3 separate regions of the Homo sapiens genome follow, and all the other regions are linked to region 2. Evidence: promoter capture Hi-C in 16 types of primary human blood cells and fetal thymus (Javierre and others, 2016). All regions are on one chromosome and are shown on one strand. The core of a region is centred on a gene start or on the middle of the fragment in contact, and the rest is flanking DNA. Distances in the headings are between cores, read along the strand shown.

What was found. Contacts are between HindIII fragments. The CHiCAGO score rates a contact against its expected background, and 5 or more counts as called.
Region 1: a contact is called between a fragment that was not itself captured here and the fragment with the promoter of LY9 in region 2, in 11 of 17 cell types (megakaryocytes, M1 macrophages, naive CD8 T cells and 8 more). The highest score is 10.8, in megakaryocytes.
Region 3: a fragment that was not itself captured here is called in contact with the fragment with the promoter of LY9 in region 2 in 1 of 17 cell types (total CD8 T cells); the score reaches 5.6 in total CD8 T cells.

The regions. Positions count from the first base shown.
Region 1 is chr1:160,985,987-160,988,702 of GRCh38, reverse strand. No RefSeq gene overlaps it. Among named protein-coding and RNA genes, the nearest start is that of ITLN2, 33 kb to the right of the region's middle. RefSeq lists a silencer at 1,010-1,304. The HindIII fragment of the contact is 816 bases long and covers 943-1,758 here.
Region 2 is chr1:160,794,756-160,797,493 of GRCh38, reverse strand. LY9 (lymphocyte antigen 9) reads right to left here and starts at 1,320. Exons shown (of 10, transcript NM_002348.4): 1 at 1,183-1,320. The coding sequence starts at 1,306. The HindIII fragment of the contact is 6,680 bases long and covers 1-2,629 here.
Region 3 is chr1:161,003,813-161,006,655 of GRCh38, reverse strand. All of the region lies in intron 1 of F11R (F11 receptor), which reads left to right. Among named protein-coding and RNA genes, the nearest start is that of F11R, 16 kb to the left of the region's middle. RefSeq lists enhancers at 1-155, 156-665. The HindIII fragment of the contact is 7,142 bases long and covers 1-2,843 here.

The DNA of each region.
Region 1 (2,716 bases), core at 101-2,600, 190 kb before region 2:
CTAAGAATTACAAGGTGATTAACCAAAGGAAAAAGTCTCTGGAAGTAGAAAACTAAAAAGAAGGTTTGGAACAGGCTGGAAGTGAGATTGAAGCATATCACAGAAATGTTAGACATTCTTCAATGTCAGTGCCTTGGATGAATTTATAAGGCTTTGCCTTAAAGTTACTTGTGGGCTTATAAAGCCTGTGTCAAAGCTAAACAAAGCCAGACAATAGTTTAGACAAGAAGTAAGGATAGGTATTTATTTATTTATTTGAGATGGAGTTTCACTCTTGTCGCCCAGGCTGGAGGGTAATGGCGCGATCTTGGCTCACCGCAACCTCCGTGTCCGGGGTTCAAGCGATTCTCCTGCCTCAGCCTCCTGAATAGCTGGGATTACAGGCATGCACCACCACGCCCGGCTAATTTTTTTGTATTTTTAGTGGAGACAGCGTTTCTCCATGTTGGTCAGGCTGGTTTTGAACTTTTGACCCCAGGTGATCTGCCCACCTCGGCCTCCCAAAGTGTTGGGATTACAGGCGTGAGCCACTGCACCCGGCCTAGGATAGGTTTTTTTAAGTAGTAACTATTGCAGTAGGGAAGAGGGCCCAAGGTGAACTGAACTTAACTTCCTTAAAAAAAAAAAAAATGCAGGAGGCCTTTTGAAGGCTGGGATGTGCTAAGGGATAGGCATGAAGATATTAAGGAGAATTGCTCCATGTGACTAGACAATCTGGATTTGTGAATTGGCTCTTGTCCAGAAGAGAAATAAGCACCTATTTTTACGACAGGAGCTAGTAGTGCAAGTTAGAGCAAGGCACCCACCTGGTTGGGAGCTGGAGCAAGATTTATTTCCTCAAATGTTTGCATTTCAAAGAAACTCTCAGGTCCCAGTGAAAATAGCTCTGGGTAGAAGATTTACATCTCAAAGAGGCAGAGAAAGATGTTTTAATTGCAAGCTTTCTTTCTAAGTAATTGCACTAAGATGAAGTTCAGGGGCCTGTGTCTATTGCTAGGTTTGGGCTGGGATGCACAGTAAATTTTTCTGACAGCGATGAGCTTTTTCAGGCAGGCATTTTAAGCGGGGGGCTGAGGTCCTCCTAGGGACAAGGCCTTAAGTTGCTAGAAGCCATGCTAGAGCTTGGTTAAGGAGAGTCTTTGTTACCTGGCGTCTCTCTGCAGTGCCGTTTCAATGCCTTAGAGCAAGAGAGTGGTGGATGGACAGTGATAGTGATTCACGTGCGCAATTCACAACTTGCATTAGCAACCAGGCAAAAGCAAGTGCTGCTTTTAGAGGCCTTGGGAAGAATTTCCACAAGTTTCCGGCCATTGGGATACAGGGGAAAAGGGATTGGAGGGAGGCTCATCGGGAACAATACATTAGGTAATGTTGGGGTTTATAAATCGATACCCCCAAATATAGTACTGAACCGAAGAAGCAACCTGAAGATCTCTCTGACCTTCCCCGCTCCACACGGTCTCTCCCAAAAAGCTGAAGTTCCTTTATTTGCCTAAGATCCAGACCCTCCAAGGAGAACAGTAGGTTTCTTTTCCTCCTGTAAGACCAAAAATGTAACCACACCTGAACAGACCTTTTCATGAGTTAATGCCTGCTTCTCATGGTCATCTAAATTCCAAAGAAAACTATTTACAAGTTAATTTGTTTCCTGATCAAATCATTCTCTTTAGTAATCATTTATTGCCCATCAACAGAATTCCTTTTCTCCCGCAGGATCCAAACTCATTCTTTCTGTAACCTCATGATGGCGTATAAGCTTTTGCACCTCACTGGGAGGTTGGGTCTTCATTCTGAAGGCTTCTATGTATACATATTAAATAAGTTTGTATGCCTTTTTTCCTATTAATCTGCCTTGCGTCAGTGATTTTCAGCAAACTTCAGGGAGCCAAAGGCCTTGGCTCCCACAGTGATAATAAACAATATGACTTTTGGCTATCAAAATTCCTGCTGTTAGTTAAGGAAAAATTGTGACAGTTTCTGAAATGGACAAATACAGGCATCCTTCCAGTGGATTACTAGGATTTGTCTAGACTAGAGGACAGGATGCTTCTGGGGGTTTTCTGATTCTCTACAGGTCAGTATCCTTCCTTGTCTTGTACTGTTTTGCAACTCTAGAAAGAAAAGTTAAATATGTAGAAGCCTGACAGTGATACAAATGATCCCTGTTCATATTAATACAAATGCAAATTGTTTGCCTGGTAGAGATACAATTGATTTTCTCTCTGTAGAAAAAAAGATGATCCCAGCCAGGCGTGGTGGCTCACCCTGCAATTCCAGCACTTTGGGAGGCCGAGACAGGCAAATCACAAGGTCAGGAGTTCGAGACCAGCCTGGCCAATATGGTGAAACCCTGTCTCTACTAAAAATACAAAAATTAGCCAGGCGTGGTGGTGGGCGCCTGTAATCCCAGCTACTCTGGAGGGTGAGGCAGGAGAATTGCTTGAATCTGGGAGGCGGAGTTTGCAGTGAGCTGAGTCCTCGCCATTGCATTCCAGCTTGGGCAACAGAGTGAGATTACATCTCAAAAAAAAAAAAAAAAAAAAAAGAATCCCAGAAATTAAATGTTTTATATTTTTGCCACAAGAAAACACGTGCAAGTATGAAACTTTTTGTAAGGTCCTCTGAGCTGGCTGCACTATGGTCAAGCCACGGTGACATTCCCCCACCCTTGTGATAATGTACTTTGTGATACTCCTGTCCTTGTGAATGTACTTTG
Region 2 (2,738 bases), core at 71-2,570:
GGAACACCCCAAAGGTTGGAGGTAAACATAAACAGCCTTGCTGCTTTCTGTGTGTTTTGATGAGCCAAGATAAAATTGAAAGTGAAAAGAGGTCAGACTGGACCTCAGCTCTGAGGTCTAGGCTCCTCGTTCACCCATATCTGCATCTAGGAGTGTTTCTAAAGCTCCCTTCAGGCACCAACTGCCAACCCCCACTGCTCTCAGATCTCTAGTGCTACCTGCACCATCATCCCTGAAGCCCTGGAGAAAGCGGGAGCACAGAAGGACAGTAGCTGCCACAGTCCCAGGTGGCTGAGATCCTCTCTGGGGTACTGGATTGGCTCTATCTGCTGGACAGTGGGGTTCCGGGCCATGCAGCGGAGAGATGTTTCCCAGGAGTTGGGCCTTGATAGGGAGGAATAAGGTTGAGGAGAAAAGGATATCCAGATAAACGCCACCTTGCCCATGGTCACCTAACCGCGTCCAGGTCCCCAGTGAAACCTCAGTAATAAAGCCAGCATATATGATAACCAAGGCAGGATACATAGAAAGAAGCTCCAGAAGTTCTCTCCATCCCTAGGAAATTGCTAGGTGGCTTCTCATCAGGGGATTTTCCTGGATCCCTCTGTGGGTTTTATCCACACCATACAGGGAACAAACTCATTATATACTTGGCATTTCTTAGGAAAATGTGAGGGCAAGAGAAATGTAGTTTGAGCCCAGAGCTATTTGAGACCGGGGCTAGAATGTTACCCCCTTCATAGTGCACGAATATGCACACATGCAAAGTAATTTCTGGCAAGGAGATGAGTTTCCCGATTTTACCAACAAGAACTGGGCTCACGCCTGTAATCCCAGCACTTCAGGTGGCTGAGCTGGGCAGATCACGAGGTCAAGAGATCGAGACCACCGTGGCCAACATAGTGAAACCCTGCCCCTACTAAAAATACAAAGATTAGCTGGGTGTGTTGGCATGCACCTGTAATCCCAGCTACTCAAGAGGCTGAGGTAGGAGAATCGCTTGAACCCAGGAGGTGGAGGTTGCAGTGAGCCGAGATTGCGCCACTTCACTCCAGCCTGGCAACAGAGTGAGACTCCGTTAAAAAAAACAAAAAACAAAAAAAAGAATCTCCCAGGCAGGGAATGCAACTGGCCTCAGAAGAACCGCAGTAGCAAGAAGTGGTGGCCATAAAGTGGACTTACCCATGAGCAGGAAGAGGAGAGAGGTCTGTAGAACAGAAGAGAATATTTGCAGCTGACTCCTCTGTGGCTTACTGGAGAAAGGCCCAGGAGCCCAGTCATCTGTGTGACTCTTTGGTGCCACCATGATGATCTATTTTCAGAACTGAGACTGAAGGAGGATGCACTTACCACAGCTTCCGCACGTGTCACAGCTTCTGCATGTGTATATGAGTGTGTGTGTGCATGTGTATGTGTATGTGTGTGTGTCTCAGAGGGAGGGTTGTTTATACAAAACACCACAGACTCCTCCCATCTGCGCAGGCAGGTAGAGGTCCCAAGTCTATTCAGGGCCTCATTTGTGACTGATGTGGAGCATCACTTGCTTTGACATCAAGGGACTTGGGTTCTAAATTTGGCTCCTAAAGGTGACTGCTAAAGATCTGTACCTCCTGGCATTCATGCCTCTGTGTAATCACCTCTTCTTTAGTGTGGCCTGGATTTAGTGACTTGCTTCAAGTGAATAGAATGTGGCAGAGATGTGGGATGGGTCACTTCTGAGATTAGGTTACAAAAAAGCTGTGACTTCCATCTTGGGTTAGCATGTGTGTGCATATGCGCTCTCTCTTTCTCTTGCCCTCTCTCCCTCTCTGTCTTTCCCACTATCTCTGTCTCCCTACCTTACACTGAGGGGAGCCAGGTATTGTTTTGTGAGATACTTTAGGGAGAGGGTTCCAAAACAAAGAACAGAGGGAGGCCCCCAGCCAACAATCGGCGAGGAGCTGATTCCTCTGGCCAACTGTCCATGAGGACTGAGGCTAGCCAAGAATCACATGAGTGAGACTGGAAGTGGATCCTCCCCAGGAGGTCCTTGAAATGACTGCAGCCCTGGCTGACACCGTGATGTTAGTTGTGTGAGTACCTTAAGCCAGAGGCACCCAGCTAAGCCATGCCCAGATTCCTTATCAAGAGAAACTGTGAGATAATAAATGTTTGGTTTTTAAATTTTTTTTCAATTTTTTATTTTTCATCAAAAATGCTTATTGTTTTTAGCTGTGAAGTTTGGGGCAATTTGTTACACAGCAACAGATAACTAATACAGTGACCCAATACATTTTCTATTTTGCTCAAGGCAGTTTGTGCTAGCTTTCTGTCACATGCAATGAAGGACTTTTAATATGGACAAAGGCATCAGGGAGACTGCAATGGGGGTGGACATCGTATGTGACAGCGTAGAGGTGACTGAGTTGAAAAGGTAGGCTGGAGAATGGCATGATTCCCTATATCCTGACTTGGGAAACTGTCTTTTTCTCCTCCTTCTTCTTGTCAGTAGCGTAATAGCTGGCCATGCTATGGTTTGTGTTTCGGGCTTCAGGTCATTTGTTTACTTAGGCTGTAACATTAAGGGGACTTGGCAGGAAAACTTGAGGCTGGCAGAATGTGTAGTTTTAGCTAATATTCGATGAAAGCTTACAGAGTGCTAGTCCATCTTCTGACACTTTAACATATTCACTCATTTGATCTTACAATAGTTTTATGAGATATCTTTTATCATCCCCATTCTATAAATGAGAAAACTG
Region 3 (2,843 bases), core at 146-2,645, 210 kb before region 2:
AGGACACTAAGGCGGAGGTTCGTGTATTTGAAACAAAATAACAGAAGCCCAGACCAGGTGATGGCAGTGCGGATTAATGAAGAAAAGGGTAATATGCCTGTAGCCCAACGTGTTTGTATATGTGTGGTGTGAATGTGATGATCTGAGAGGACTCAACAAAGAACTTTAGCTAAACCAGAAGTGGTGGAGGAACAACCATCAAATTCACATGTTGTGATTTGTGTGTATATGTGTGTTTATTTCAAAGGCTAGTTTTTAGTCTAATTAGATGCTGCTGTTCATTTGGGTGGTGCCATAGGTTGGGTTCTTGGGAAGCTGACTCTGAGATGTCAATAATCATACAAGACATTTATTAGGGAGTGCACTTGGGATCCACGCCCGTGGAAAGGAGGGGAAGGAAGCAAAGTTGGACAGAGGGAGAGGCCAAGTTTGCGTTATAGTCTTGGTGAGGCCTCAGCCTATCCCACAGACAGCTTTGGAACACTTTGGAACAGAAGTGCCCCCCCCCTTTTTTTTTTGAGATGGAGTCTCACTGTGTTACCCAGGCTGGAGTGCAGTGGTGCGATCTTGGCTCACGGCAACCTTCGCCTCCCGGGTTCAAGTGATTGTCCTGCCTCAGCCTCCCAAGTAGTTGGGATTACCGTTGCCCGCCACCATGCCCGGCTAATTTTTGTATTTTAGTAGAGATGGGGTTTCGCCATATTGGCCAGGCTGGTTTCAAACTCCTGACCTCAGGTGACCTGCCCGCCTCAGCCTCCCAAAGTGCTGGGATTACAGGCTGTTGAGCTGCCATGCCCAGCCTATTAGCATTCTTAATGAGAGTTGAGTAAGAGACTTCCACAGCCATGGTGGCTCACGCCTGTAATCCTAGCACTTTGGGAGGCCAAGGCAGGAGAATTGCTTGAGCTCAGGAATTTGAGACCAGCCTGGGTAACATAGTGGGACCTGGTCTCTACAAAAAAATTGTAAAAGTTAGCTGGGCAGGCCAGGTGCGGTAGCTCAGGCCTATAATCCCAGCACTTTGGGAGGCCGAAGCGGGTGGATCACTTGAGGTCAGGAGTTTGAGACCAGCCTGGCCAACATGATGAAACCTTGTTTCTGCTAAAAATACAAAAAATTAGCCAGGCATGGTGGCTCGTGCTTGTAATCCCAGCTACTCAGGAGGCTGAGGCAGGAGAATTGCTGGAACCCGGGAGACAGAGGCCTGTAGTCCCAACTACTTAGGAGGCTGAGGTGGGTCACTTGAGCCCAGCAGGCCAACACTGGGCCCTAAGCAGTAAGCCATAATGGTGCCACTGAACTCTAGCCGGGGCAACAGAGTGAGAAAGGAGGGAGGAGATAGGGGAGGTAGGGGAGGGAGGGGAAGGAGGAAGGAGGGAGGAAGGGAGGAGACTTATGTGTCCTCAGGAAGAATTTTCAATTTAATAAAAGCTATTTGGTTTAATTTCCATATCTATTATTATTATTATTATTATTATTATTATTATTTTATTTTTGAGACAGAGTCTTGCTCTGTCACCCAGGCTGGAGTGCAGTGGCACTATCTAGGCTCACTTCAGCCTCCACCTCCTGGGTTCAGTGATTCTCCTGCCTCAGCCTCCCGAGTAGCTGGGATTACAGGCTAGTGCCACCACCCCTGGCTGGTTTTTGTACTTTTACTAGAGACGAGATTTCGCCACGTTGGCCAAGCTGGTCTCGAACTCCTGCCCTCAAGCAGTCTCCCCACCTCGGCCTCCCAAAGTGCTGGAATTACAGGTGTGAGCTACCGTGCTCAGCCTCCATATCTATTATTACATTTGAGCATAAATTTGACATTAAAAATGTAATGGCAAATATATAAATAAAATAATATCATTAGAAATATTTTTATTAGTTTTTTTTTCATTAAACCTATGGTTTTTCTAAGAAACAGCTCGGTTTTCTTTTCTTATGTTTTTTAGAGACAGGGTCTTGCTCTGTCACCCAGGCACCCAGGCTGGAATGCATTGGTGTGATTGTAGCTCACTGTAACCTCCCACTCTTTGGCTTAAGTAGTCCTTTTGCCTCAGTCTCCCAAGTTACTGGGCTACAGGCATGTGTCACCATGCCTGGTTAATTTTTTTTTTTTTTGAGACGGAGTCTCACTTTGTTGCCCAAGCTGGAATGTAGTGTCACAATCTCAGCTCACTGCAACCTCTGCCTCCCGGGTTCAAGTGATTCTCTTTGCTCAGCCTTCCAGGTAGCACGCGCCACCACGCCTGGCTAATTTTTGTATTTTTAGTAGCGATAAGGTTTCGCCACGTTGGCCAGGCTGGTCTCAAACTCTTGACCTCAAGTGATCTGCCCTCTTTGGCCTCCCAAAGTGCTGGGGTTATAGGTGTGACCTACCGTGCCCAGCCTATACCCTTCTTTTTTGAAAACCATGCTATATGGCCAGGCGTGATGGTTCACATCTGTAATCCCAGCACTTTGGGAGGCCAAGGCAGGAGAACTGCTTGAGACCAGGAGTTCTAGACCAGCCTGGGCAATGTAGCAAGAACCCAGCTCTTTAAAAAAAAGAAATTCCAGCCTGGACAACATGGTGAAACCCTGTCTACTAAAAATACAAAAAATTGCCGGGCGCGGTGGCTCACGCTTGTAATCCCAGCATTTTGGGAGGCCAGGGCGGGTGGATCACCTGAGATCAGGAGTTCGAGACCAGCCTGACCAACATGGAGAAACCCCATCTCTACTAAAAATACAAAATTAGCCGGGCATGGTGGCGCCTGCCTGTAATCCTAGCTACTAGGGAGGCCGAGGCAGGAGAATCTCCTGAACCTGGGAGGCGGAGGTTGTGGTGAGTCTAGATTGCGCCACTGCACTCC